4 separate regions of the Homo sapiens genome follow, and regions 1, 2 and 3 are each linked to region 4. The links are contacts of gene promoters, found by promoter capture Hi-C in human tissues and cell types (Jung and others, 2019). All regions are on one chromosome and are shown on one strand. Each heading gives the region's core, a stretch centred on a gene start or on the middle of the fragment in contact. The rest is flanking DNA. Distances are from core to core; before and after follow the strand shown. Region 1 has its middle 130 kb from the start of POTEA. Region 2 has its middle 230 kb from the start of POTEA. Region 3 overlaps LOC105379397 (a long non-coding RNA gene). Region 4 holds the start of POMK (protein O-mannose kinase).

Evidence for each region. Contacts are between HindIII fragments. The study calls those that stand out against the background at their distance.
Region 1: a fragment that was not itself captured here is called in contact with the fragment with the promoter of POMK in region 4 in 1 of the 25 tissues and cell types used here (lymphoblastoid cells).
Region 2: a contact is called between a fragment that was not itself captured here and the fragment with the promoter of POMK in region 4, in 2 of the 25 tissues and cell types used here (aorta and mesenchymal stem cells).
Region 3: a contact is called between a fragment that was not itself captured here and the fragment with the promoter of POMK in region 4, in 2 of the 25 tissues and cell types used here (dorsolateral prefrontal cortex and lymphoblastoid cells).

What each region holds. Positions count from the first base shown.
Region 1 is chr8:43,423,406-43,426,105 of GRCh38, forward strand. No RefSeq gene overlaps it. Among named protein-coding and RNA genes, the nearest start is that of POTEA, 130 kb to the left of the region's middle. The HindIII fragment of the contact is 3,630 bases long and covers 1-2,700 here.
Region 2 is chr8:43,517,878-43,520,577 of GRCh38, forward strand. No RefSeq gene overlaps it. Among named protein-coding and RNA genes, the nearest start is that of POTEA, 230 kb to the left of the region's middle. The HindIII fragment of the contact is 3,220 bases long and covers 1-2,700 here.
Region 3 is chr8:43,487,049-43,489,748 of GRCh38, forward strand. All of the region lies in intron 1 of LOC105379397 (a long non-coding RNA gene), which reads left to right. Among named protein-coding and RNA genes, the nearest start is that of POTEA, 200 kb to the left of the region's middle. The HindIII fragment of the contact is 3,474 bases long and covers 1-2,700 here.
Region 4 is chr8:43,092,137-43,094,836 of GRCh38, forward strand. POMK (protein O-mannose kinase) reads left to right here and starts at 1,379. Exons shown (of 5, transcript NM_032237.5): 1 at 1,379-1,427. RefSeq lists enhancers at 343-1,249, 1,250-2,155 and a silencer at 1,407-1,616. The HindIII fragment of the contact is 5,704 bases long and covers 1-2,700 here.

The sequences.
Region 1 (2,700 bases), core at 88-2,587, 330 kb after region 4:
TTCCTGGGATACAGTGTTAGCTACCTGGCCAGATGGAGTCCACTCTTAGTATAGCATTAGAAGGGTACTCAGTGGGGAGATTGAGACTAAAAGGCTGAGAAAATACTGAATGGGAAGAACTTCTCAGTAGTACCTGATGCCCAGTGAGTGGGGTGGGGGGTGATTTCATTGCAAATTTTAGAGATTAAAAAGCCAGGAGTATCTCAGATGACAATAATTGGGAAAGAAGATAAGCGAATAAGCCTTTAACCCACTCTGGTGCCATAGTTATGATAAATCCCATATGGTCAAATTTAATCTCTTATGACAGGTTTCTCTCAATGTAAGGGTTTTTTTTTTAATGTGATATAATCTATATAACGTAAAATTCACTGTTTAAAAGTGTAGAATTCAGTGATTTCCAGCATATTAACTATGTAGTGCAACCATCACTATTGTCTCACTCTAGAGTATTTCTGCCACCCCCCCAAAAAAAACCCTGTACCAATTAGCAGTGAGTCCCAATTTTTCCCTTCTCTCATCTCCTAATGACCAGAAATCTGCTTTTTGCATCTACAAATTTACATAGTCTGGATAGTTCATGTCAATTGAATCACGTTATATGTAGCCTTTTGTGACTGGCTTCTTTCCATTAGCACAGTGTTTTCAAGATTCATCTATATTGTATCACATAGCAATATTCATTTCTTTTTATAGCTGAATATGTTTTGGATATATACCACATTTTATTCATTTATGCATCAGTTGATGGGCATTACATTGTTTCAGTTTTTTAGCAATTATGCATAATGCTGCTGTGAACTTTTCTGTACAACTCTAATGGATTTTTAGGGTAATGCTCATATACCCCAGACAAGCATCTCCTGTAGAGATCTTTTACCTCCTTGGGCAGATGTATTCCTAGGTTTTTATTTGTTTTATTGTTTGTTTTGGCTATAAGTGGGATTGCATTCTTGATTTGGTTCTCAGCTTGAATGTTGATGGTGTATGGAAATAATACTGATTTTTATATGTAGATTTTGTATCCTGAAACTTCACCACATCATTTGTCAAGCCTAGGAGTCTTTTGGAGAAATCCTTTGGGTTTTCTATGTACAGAATTATATGTTCAGTGAAGAGAGATAGTTTGACTTCTTTTTCTATTTGGATGCCTTTTATTTCTTTCTCTTGGCTGATTGCTGTGGTTAGGATTTCCAGTACTACATTGAATAGGAGTGGTGTAAGTGGACATTCTTGTTTATTCCAGTTCTAAGAGGGAATGTTTCTAAATTTGTCTTTTCATTATGATGTCAGCTGCAGGTCTGTCACAGATGGCTCTTAATATTTTGAGGTATGATGCTTAGTTCATTGAGGGTTTTTATTATAAAGGGGTGAGTTGATCAGCTATTTAGTAAAGTTGAAACTAATATTTCTTTTTCAGATACTTTTGAGTTTCTATAATGACCTTTACAACAGTATATACTAGGTTCTAGAACATAATTATGTTTGCGATAACATTACTAGCAAATGGGATTGCTTTATTTTCTAAAACGTGTGGGTGCGGAAAACATGATGTTCAGTTTTGTATGTTCTAGTAATGCATTTGATCCTTAAAAATGAGGCTTCTGAGTTGACTTAGGAGTGAACAAACACAATTTCTGAGGTCCTGAAGAAACTGCAGCCACTCCTGAGAAAGAGTCAGGCTGTAGCTGCTGAAAGAATGCAGATATGGAGAAAATTCATCTAACTGAAACTGAAGAGAATGAGAAGTTGGAGAGAATAAGTTTAGAATTTAAGTTGGGATTTGAGACATTAATTTCTTTGGATTCATACTGCACAACAAAGACAGCAGGAATTTTTCAGACTTTAGCTTTTATGGATTTTAAGGTTAAGAATTTGAATTTTTTAAAGCTTTTAATATTTGAATTTAATTATAATTCCTGGGAAACTATTAATGAGAGGGAAATTATATTTAATTTTGGAGTATCAATATGTGGTGACATACGATTATTGGACTATCTTACGGTCATTATTTAATATCATTGCAGAAGCTTTGAAAGGATATATTAGGTAATATGGCTGGATACAATTTAAGATAGGAAATAGAACAGAAGTGAAGTTCCAGCTTTACTGATCTCTCAGCAGAAACTCTACAAGCCAGAAGAGAGTGGGGGCCAATATTCTTAAAGAAAAGAATTTTCAACCCAGAATTTCATATCCAGCCAAACTAAGCTTCATAAGTGAAGGAGAAATAAAATACTTTACAGACAAGCAAATGGTGAGAGATTTTGTCACCACCAGGCCTGCCCAAAAGAGCTCCTGAAGGAAGCACCAAACATGGAATAGAACAACCTGTACCAGCCACTGCAAAAACATGCCAAATTGTAAAGACCATCAAAGGCTAGGAAGAAACTGCATCAACTAATGACCAAAATAAACAGCTAACATAATGACAGGATCAAATTCACACATAACAATACTAACCTTAAACATAAATGGGCTAAATGCTCCAATTAAAAGACACAGACTGGCAAATTGGATAAAGAGTCAAGACCCATCAGTGTGCTGTATTCAGGAAACCCATCTCACGTGCAGAGACACACATAGGCTCAAAACAAAGGGATGGAGGAAGATCTACCAAGCAAATGGAAAACAAAAAGAGGCAGGAGTTGCAATCCTAGTCTCAGATAAAACAGACTTTAACCAACAAAGATCAAAAGA
Region 2 (2,700 bases), core at 156-2,655, 430 kb after region 4:
CTGCTGCCTGCATCCCTGCAGTGCCAGCTCCAGCTCTAGCAATGGCTGAAAGATGCACATGTACAGCTTGGGTCACAGCTTTGGGGCCTGCAAGCTATAAGCTTTGGTGGCTTCCACATAGTGTTCAGCCAGCGGGTGTGTAGAGCATGAGACAAGAGGCTTTGGAGCCTTTGTATAGATTTTGGAAGATGTATGGAAATGCCTGGGTGTCCAGGCAGAAGACTGCCAAAGGAGGAGAGCCTCATGGAAAACCTCTACTAGGGCAGTGCAGAAGGAAAATATGGGGTTGGAGCCTCCACACTGGAGGCCACCACTCTCAAAACCTCAGATTCATACACCCCCAACAGCTTGTACCCTTAGAGGGGAAAAGCTACAGGCACTCAACACCAGCCTAGCCCATGAGAGCAGCCATGGTCACTAAACAGTGCAAAGACACAGGTGCAGGTCTGCCCAAGGCCTTGGGAGCCCAGCCCTCACACCCCTGTGCTCTGGATTTGGGACAGTGAAGCAAAAAGGATGATTTTGGAGCTGTAGGATTGAAAGACTTGACTGCTGTGTTCTGGAATTTCATGAGGCCTGTAAGTCTCATCTGCTTTTGTTCTTTCTGGCAAAATTCTTCCTTTTGGCTGGGAATGCTTACCCATTGCCTGTGCAACCATTGTACCTTGGAAGTAGATAACTTGCTTTATATTTCAGAGGCTCATGGGCAGAAGGGAGTGTAGCCTGTGTCAGATGAGATTTTAAGCTATAAACAATTATGTAAATGCTGGAAAGGGTTAAGATTTGGAGGACTGTAGGGAAGGCAACATTGTATTGTGCAATGTGAGGAGGACACGAGATATTGGGGGCCAGGGCAAAATAATATGATTTTGCTCTGTGTCCCTACCAAAACTCATATGGAATTGTCATCGGGAATGTTAAAAGTGGGGCCTGGTGGAAGGTGATGTAATCATGGATGAGAGTGGGGGTTGGAAGTTGGGAGGTGGTTGGGAGAATGGCAGGGATTATGGTGGTGGGGGAGGGAAAGGTCGGGGTGGTGTGAATCCTTCACAAATGGTTAAACACCATCTCCTTCATGCTGTCCTCATGATAGTGATTCTCATGATGATTTTGGAGCTGTAAGATTGAATGAATAGTGGCTGGCTGGATTTTGGGCTTGCATTGGGCCTGTGGTCCCATTTGTGTTATTTTCCTGGGAAATTTCTTCCCTTTGGATTGAGAAAGCTTACCCAATACCTGTACCATCATTGTACCTTGGAAGAAAAGAACTCCTTTTTAAATTCAGGGACTCATTTGCAGCCTTATCTTATATGAGACAATGAACTTTTTACATTTGAATTAATGCTGAAATCAGTTAAGATTTTTGGAAACTTTTGAAAAGAAATGATTGTATTTTGCTCTGTGAGAAGGACATGAGATTCAGAAGGGTCGAGGTCAGAATAATACGGTTAGGGTATTTGTCCCTACCACAACTCATGTGGAATTGAAATCTCAAATGCTTGAGGTAGGGCCTGGTGGGAGGTGATATAATAATGGAAGGGAGGGGGGTGGGGGTGCAAGGAAAAAGGGGTGGGTAGGGTGGGGAAAAGTAGGTTTTCAGTAGGGTGGTGGGAGGGTGAAGGGTAGTAGGAAGCAGAGTAGCCTGCTGTAGAGACAGAGCCTCATAGAAAAACTCTACTAGGGCAGTGTGCCGTGGATTCACAGGGTTTAGCCCCCGTGGCTGCTCTCATGGGCTGGGCTGGTGTTGAATGCCTGTAGCTTTTTCACATTGAGGGTGCAAGCTGTTGGTGGGTCTATGAATCTGGGGTCTGGAGGATGGTGGCCCCCTGTGTGGGGGCTCCACGCCCATATTTTCCTTCTGCAGTGCCCGAGTAGCAGTTTTCCAAGAGGCTCGGCCTCTGCAGCAGGTTCTGCCTGAAAACAGTGGTGGGTGGGTGTGGGAGAAGATCCCTCACCCATGGTTAACCACCGTCTTCTTGATGTGGGCCTCATGATAGTTCTCATGAGATCTGGTTGTATAAAAGCATGTGGCACCTCTTTCCTCTTTCTGTCTTTCTCCTACTCCTGCCATTTGAAACATCTCATTGCTCCTCAGCCTTCTGGTATGATTGGGAGGCTTCCTGGGTCCTCCCAGAAACAGAAGCCACTCTGCTTCCTTTACATCCTACAGAAACCAGAGCCAATTTAACCTCTTTTCTTTATGATCACACAGAAAATTAGTACTGCAAAGTGGAGCTATGAAATGCCTTCAAGGCCTTTTCTTCATTATCTTGCCTGTTAGCATTGGCCTACCTTTTTTATGCAAAGATCTGAAGCTTTCTTGAATTTTCTCCCTGAAAATGGGGTTTTCTTCTTTTACCACATTGCCAGGTGTGACTAAATTAGCTGAAAATGTAGAAGCAGGTTCAGAAGTGGGTAACAGCCAAAGGTCAGAGAGTTTGGAGGGCTTTGAAGAAGATAGGGACATGACAGAAAGTTGGACCTATTGTAGAAATGTTTTAAATAATTATGATTAAAAGGTTGACAGATGTATAGTGAAGGCCAGGCTTAGAAGGTCTCAGTTGAAAATGAGGAAGTTATACTGGGAATAAAAGCCCAGGTCACTTTTGTCTTACCATAGCAAAGAACTTAGCCGACTGGTGACCCTGCCCTCAAGATATGTGAATCTTTGATCCTGAGGGTAAAGATTTAGGGTGTATC
Region 3 (2,700 bases), core at 174-2,673, 390 kb after region 4:
TGGACTGGAGGAAGGAGGGGATGGTCTTGGGATGATTCCAGCACATTACATTTATTGTGCTACTTTATATTATTATATTGTAATATATAATGAAATAATGATACAACTCTCCATAATGTAGAGTTAGTGAGATCCCTGAACTTGTTTTCCTGTCACTGGATGTTCTCATCTGGAGGCAATGGGAGAAAGTGACAGATCATCAGGCATTGGATTCTCATAAGAAGCACACAACCTAGATCCCTAGCATGTACAGTTTATAGCAGGGTTCATGCTCCAATGAGTATCTAATTCTACCTCTGATCTGACAGGAGGTGGAGCTCAAGTGGGAATAGGAGAAATGGGGTGTGGCTGTATATACAGATAAAGCTTTGCTGGCTTACCTGCCACTCACCTCTTGCTGTGTGGCCTGGTTCCTAACAGGCCATGGGCTGGTACCAGTTTGTTGCCCAGGAGTTGTGGACCCCTGCGCTAGGTGGTCCTACCATAGATAAGAAAGTAAAAGTAAGGAAGTTTTTATCACAAAAAAAAAACAGTTTGAAAAATCACTGTGTATAAATTGCATGTATATATTTTACAATTTTTTTTGAGAGTAGGTTCGATTTCAGAATTATTTAAAAATTTCATTTTAGGTGATTTATAATTTCAAATATCTGAAAAATTTAATTATGGTCTCTAAAATCTTGTATAATATTTTTATGTAAATAAGAAAAACACAAGTTAGTACATGGTATATCTTTTTTACGGTCACATGATAACAAATTGGACTTGTTATACAATTGAATCTTCTATTTAATTATTTAAATAAATGGTTTGCTTTGAGCAAATGAATGTTAATTACAGTTGACCCTTGAACAGTGTAGGACTTAGGGGTACCAATCCTCCATGCAGCCAAAAATCTATGTATAACTTTTGACTTCCCTCATAACTTAACTACTAATAGCCTACTGTTGACCAGAAGCCTTATTGGTAACACAGTCAGTTAAGATGATATTTGGTGTGTTATAAGTATTGTATGTTGTATTTGTACAATAAACTGGAGAAAAGAAACTGTCGGGAAGAAAAAATATAATTAATATCAAGTGGAAGTGGATCATCATAAATGTCTTCATCCTTAATCTTCAAGTTGAATAGGCTGAAGAGGAGAAAGAGGGAGGTTGGGCTTGCTGTCTGAGGTGACAGAGGTAGAAGAAAATCTGCATATGAGTAGTAGACCCCTACAGTTCAAGCCTGTGTTGGTCAAAGGTTAGCTATATTACACTGAGGTTTGTGTCACTAAAAAAGTAACTATCTTTAAAAGTGGAAACTCAGCAATACCTTTCTAATACCATAAGCAAATGAGAATGAGAACTGCAAGACTTAGTCAGTGTGCAGCAACACCAATGAGAAATTATTTTTTTTAAAGATACCTACAGAAGTGTCCCTGTCTGACAGCTTTGAAGAGAGCAGTGGTTTTCCCAGCATGCAGCTGGAGATCTGAGAATGGGCAGACTGCCTCCTCAAGTGGGTACCTGACCCCTGACCCCTGAGCAGCCTAACTGGGAGGCACCCCCCAGCAGGGGCAGACTGACATCTCACACATCTGGCCAGGTACTCCAACAGACCTGCAGCTGAGGGTCTTGTGTGTTAGAAGGAAAACTAACGAACAGAAAGGACATCCACACCAAAAACCCATCTGTACATCACCATCATCAAAGACCAAAAGTAGATAAAACCACAAAGATGGGGAAAAAACAGAGCAGAAAAACTGGAAACTCTAAAAAGCAGAGTGCCTCTCCACCTCCAAAGGAACGCAGTTCCTCACCAGCAATGGAACAAATCTGGACGGAGAATGACTTTGACGAGCTGAGAGAAGAAAGCTTCAGATGATCAAATTACTCCAAGCTACGGGAGGACATTCAAATCAAAGGCAAAGAAGCTGAAAACTTTGAAAAAAATTTAGGAGAATGTATAACTAGAATAACCAATACAGAGAAGTGCTTAAAGGAGCTGATGGAGCTGAAAACCAAGGCTCGAGAACTACCTGAAGAATGCAGAAGCCTCAGGAGCCAATGCAATCAACTGGAAGAAAGGGTATCAGCGATGGAAGATGAAATGAATGAAATGAAGTGAGAAGGGAAGTTTAGAGAAAAAAACAATAAAAAGAAACGAGCAAAGCCTCCAAGAAATATGGGACTATGTCAAAAGACCAAATCTACATCTGATTGGTGTACCTGAAAGTGACGGAGAGAATGGAACCAAGTTGGAAAACACTCTGAAGAATATTATCCAGGAGAACTTCCCCAATCTAGCAAGGCAGGCCAACATTCACATTCAGGAAATACGGAGAATGCCGCAAAGATACTCCTTGAGAAGAGCAACTCCAAGACACATAATTGTCAGATTCACCAAAGTTGAAATGAAGGAAAAAATGTTAAAGGCAGCCAAGGAGATAGGTCGGGTTACCCACAAAGGGAAGCCCATCAGACTAACAGCGGATCTCTCAGCAGAAATTCTACAAGCCAGAAGAGAGTGGGGGCCAATATTCAACATTCTTAAAGAAAAGAATTTTCAATCCAGAATTTCATATCCAGCCAAACTAATCTTCATAAGTGAAGGAGAAATAAAATACTTTACAGACAAGCAAATGCTGAGAGATTTCGTCACCACCAGGCCTGTCCTAAAAGTGCTCTTGAAGGAAGCACTAAACATGGAAAGGAACAA
Region 4 (2,700 bases), core at 129-2,628:
TTTACCATCTTCTCACACTGAAACTGTGCACCCGTTAGTATTTTTCATGGCTATGTGGATGTAATATAATTTCTTTCAGAAACCCCTATTGTTATACATTCAGGTTTCTTTTTTTCTCTATTATAAATATCTTTTATCAGCAATGCTTCAGCAAGATCTCTTGTGCATACATCTTGCAGACATATTATTTCTTTTTCTTTTTTTTTTTTTTTTTTTTTGAGACGGAGTCTCGCTCTGTCACCCAGGCTGGAGTACAGTGGCGCGATCTCGGCTCACTGCAAGCTCCGCCTCCCGGGTTCACGCCATTCTCACGCCCGCCACCATGCCCGGCTAATTTTTTGTATTTTTAGTAGAGACGGGGTTTCACCGTGTTATCCAGGATGGTCTCGGTCTCCTGACCTCGTGATCCGCCCACCTCGGCCTCCCAAAGTCCTGGGATTACAGGCATGAGCCACGGCGCCCGGCCACAGACGTTATTTCTGAAGGATAAATTCCTAGAAATGGATTTGCTAGGGCACGTAGGAGGAATTCCAATTTACACTCACTTGTATGTGTGAGGAAACTTTCAGACTCTACTGTAACGACAGGAGGTATTACCGCTGTTTGTCCATGTGATAGGCAAACGTTTCTGTTAATTTTAATACTGTTTGGATAGCTAGTACCGGCTCAGTTTTTTTAACCCACACCATGTTACTGTCTTGATTCTGGACTTTCGCAGTGTGTCAGTGTAGAAGCAGCTAACGCTTCCGATGTACACAACCTAGACGTTCCATGACCCAGCTGACTTCGATGCTGCAAGCCTCCCTTTCGGTTTCCCGGAGCAAGCGCCCGAGTGCGTGTTGGGCTCCCGGCAGGGCTCCTGGCCGGCCCTCGACGGACTTCCCCGCCTTTGCCCAGTCCTGCCCCTCCGCGGAGGCTTGCCAAGGTCTTGTCTGCTGCGCTTGATGTGTGCAGCTCAGCTTTACTGCGTCTAGGCTAAGCCCCACAGTTTCTTTTACAGAGCGATTGTCCAACTTCAGGCATCTGGGTCCCCGAGTGGCGGGTCTGGGCCGGAGCTGGGAATCAGCCTTTCCAGCAAGGTCCCTGCAGATGCCGCGGGTCTGAGGACTACGCTTTGGAAGGCCTCGCAGTGCGTCTAGATCTGACAGCTGCTCTGCATGAGCCTGGCTCCAGGCTGAAGCAATAGTCGGTCAACACAAAATCGTTCTCCCAAGTTAGGGAAGCAGAAGCCAGACAGGGAGACTGGGTAGGTGCGCGCTGGTACCGCCGCGGCGTTCGCTCCGGCTTCAGTGCACGGCCGGAGGAGGACGCCAGGGGGCAGCAGCGCCACGCTCACCCGCCCAGGACGCGCTTCCGAACGCGCAAGCGCAGTAGGCCCAGTGCGTGCTGGCCCGGGGTGGCAGGAGCCGCAGAGGCTTGGGCTGCAGGTAGGTGCTGCGGCGAGGGGTGAGAGGGCGAAGGGGCGAGGGGGCGTGCAGCTGGGTTTCCCGGGGGACCCTGTACGTGGCCTGGGCCGCACCCCCCGCAGCCCCGGCCGCCTGCCCGCGGCCTGTCCGGAGGCTCCCTAGGAGGCTGCGCTGGGCCTGAGCGGCCGTGTCCACCGCGCCCAGCCCCTATCTCCGCGTCCACCCCTGCGCGGTAGCGGGACGTTAAAGAACCAGAGAAGGGCCCGGCGAGGTGGCTCCAGCCTGTAATCCCAGCGCTTTGGGAGGCCGAGGCGGGAGGATCGCGTGAGCTCAGGCGAGAGCAGCCTGGGCAACATGGCGGAACTTCTGTCTCCGTAAAAAAGCACTTAGCCGGGCGCGGTGGCGCCGCCTATAGTCTTATCTACTCCGGAGGCTGAGGCGGGAGAATGCTTGAACCCGGCGGGGGCGGAGGTTTCAGTGAGCCGAAATCGCGCCACTGCACTTCAGCCTGGGGGCCAGAGTGAGAGGCTGTTTCTATTATTATTACTTTATCATTATTATTATTATTTGAGACGGAGTCTCGCTCTGTCGCCCAGGCTGGAGTGTAGTGGCGCGGTCTTGGCTCCTGGGATTACAGGCGTCCGCCACCACGCCCGGCTAATTTTTGTATTTTTAGTAGAAACGGGGTTTCCCCATGTTGGTCAGGCTGGTCTCGAACGCCTGACCTCAGGTGATCCGCCCGCCTCTGCCTCCCAAAGTGCTGGGATTACAGGCGTGAGCTACTGGGTCCGGCAGAGGCTGTCTCTGTTTAAAAAAACAAAAACCAAACCAAACCAAAACAAAACAAAAAACAAAAAAACCAGAAAGGACCGAGGACTCTGTCTCAGCTCTTTGCCTTTGGGTGTTTATTCTGCACGAGATCATTGTTGCCAGGAGGTGTTAAGTGTAATCATATTCTCTTTTTTTTAGAAAGCAAAATTTCGCTGTTTTGTTGCATAATCTTGTCTTTGCCACCCTTTGCCTTTGCTATAGAACCTTAAGGCTAAATAAGCGTTCAGAATATTTAAAATAATCCTCTTAATGTACCTTGTGCTTTATTGGCGCAATGGAATTCTACTCTAAACTGTATTGGATGACATTACTCTGTGTCTTCCCTAGTTGTAGAAAATATCTTGTAAGTCGGTAAAAACTAGTTTTGTCCCTTTGCTTTTCTTTTCTTTTTAAGCTGTAAATGTGGAGCAGTGGGTCCCAAGCCTTTCTCTATCAATAAGCCTTCCTATCAGTGTCAGAAATG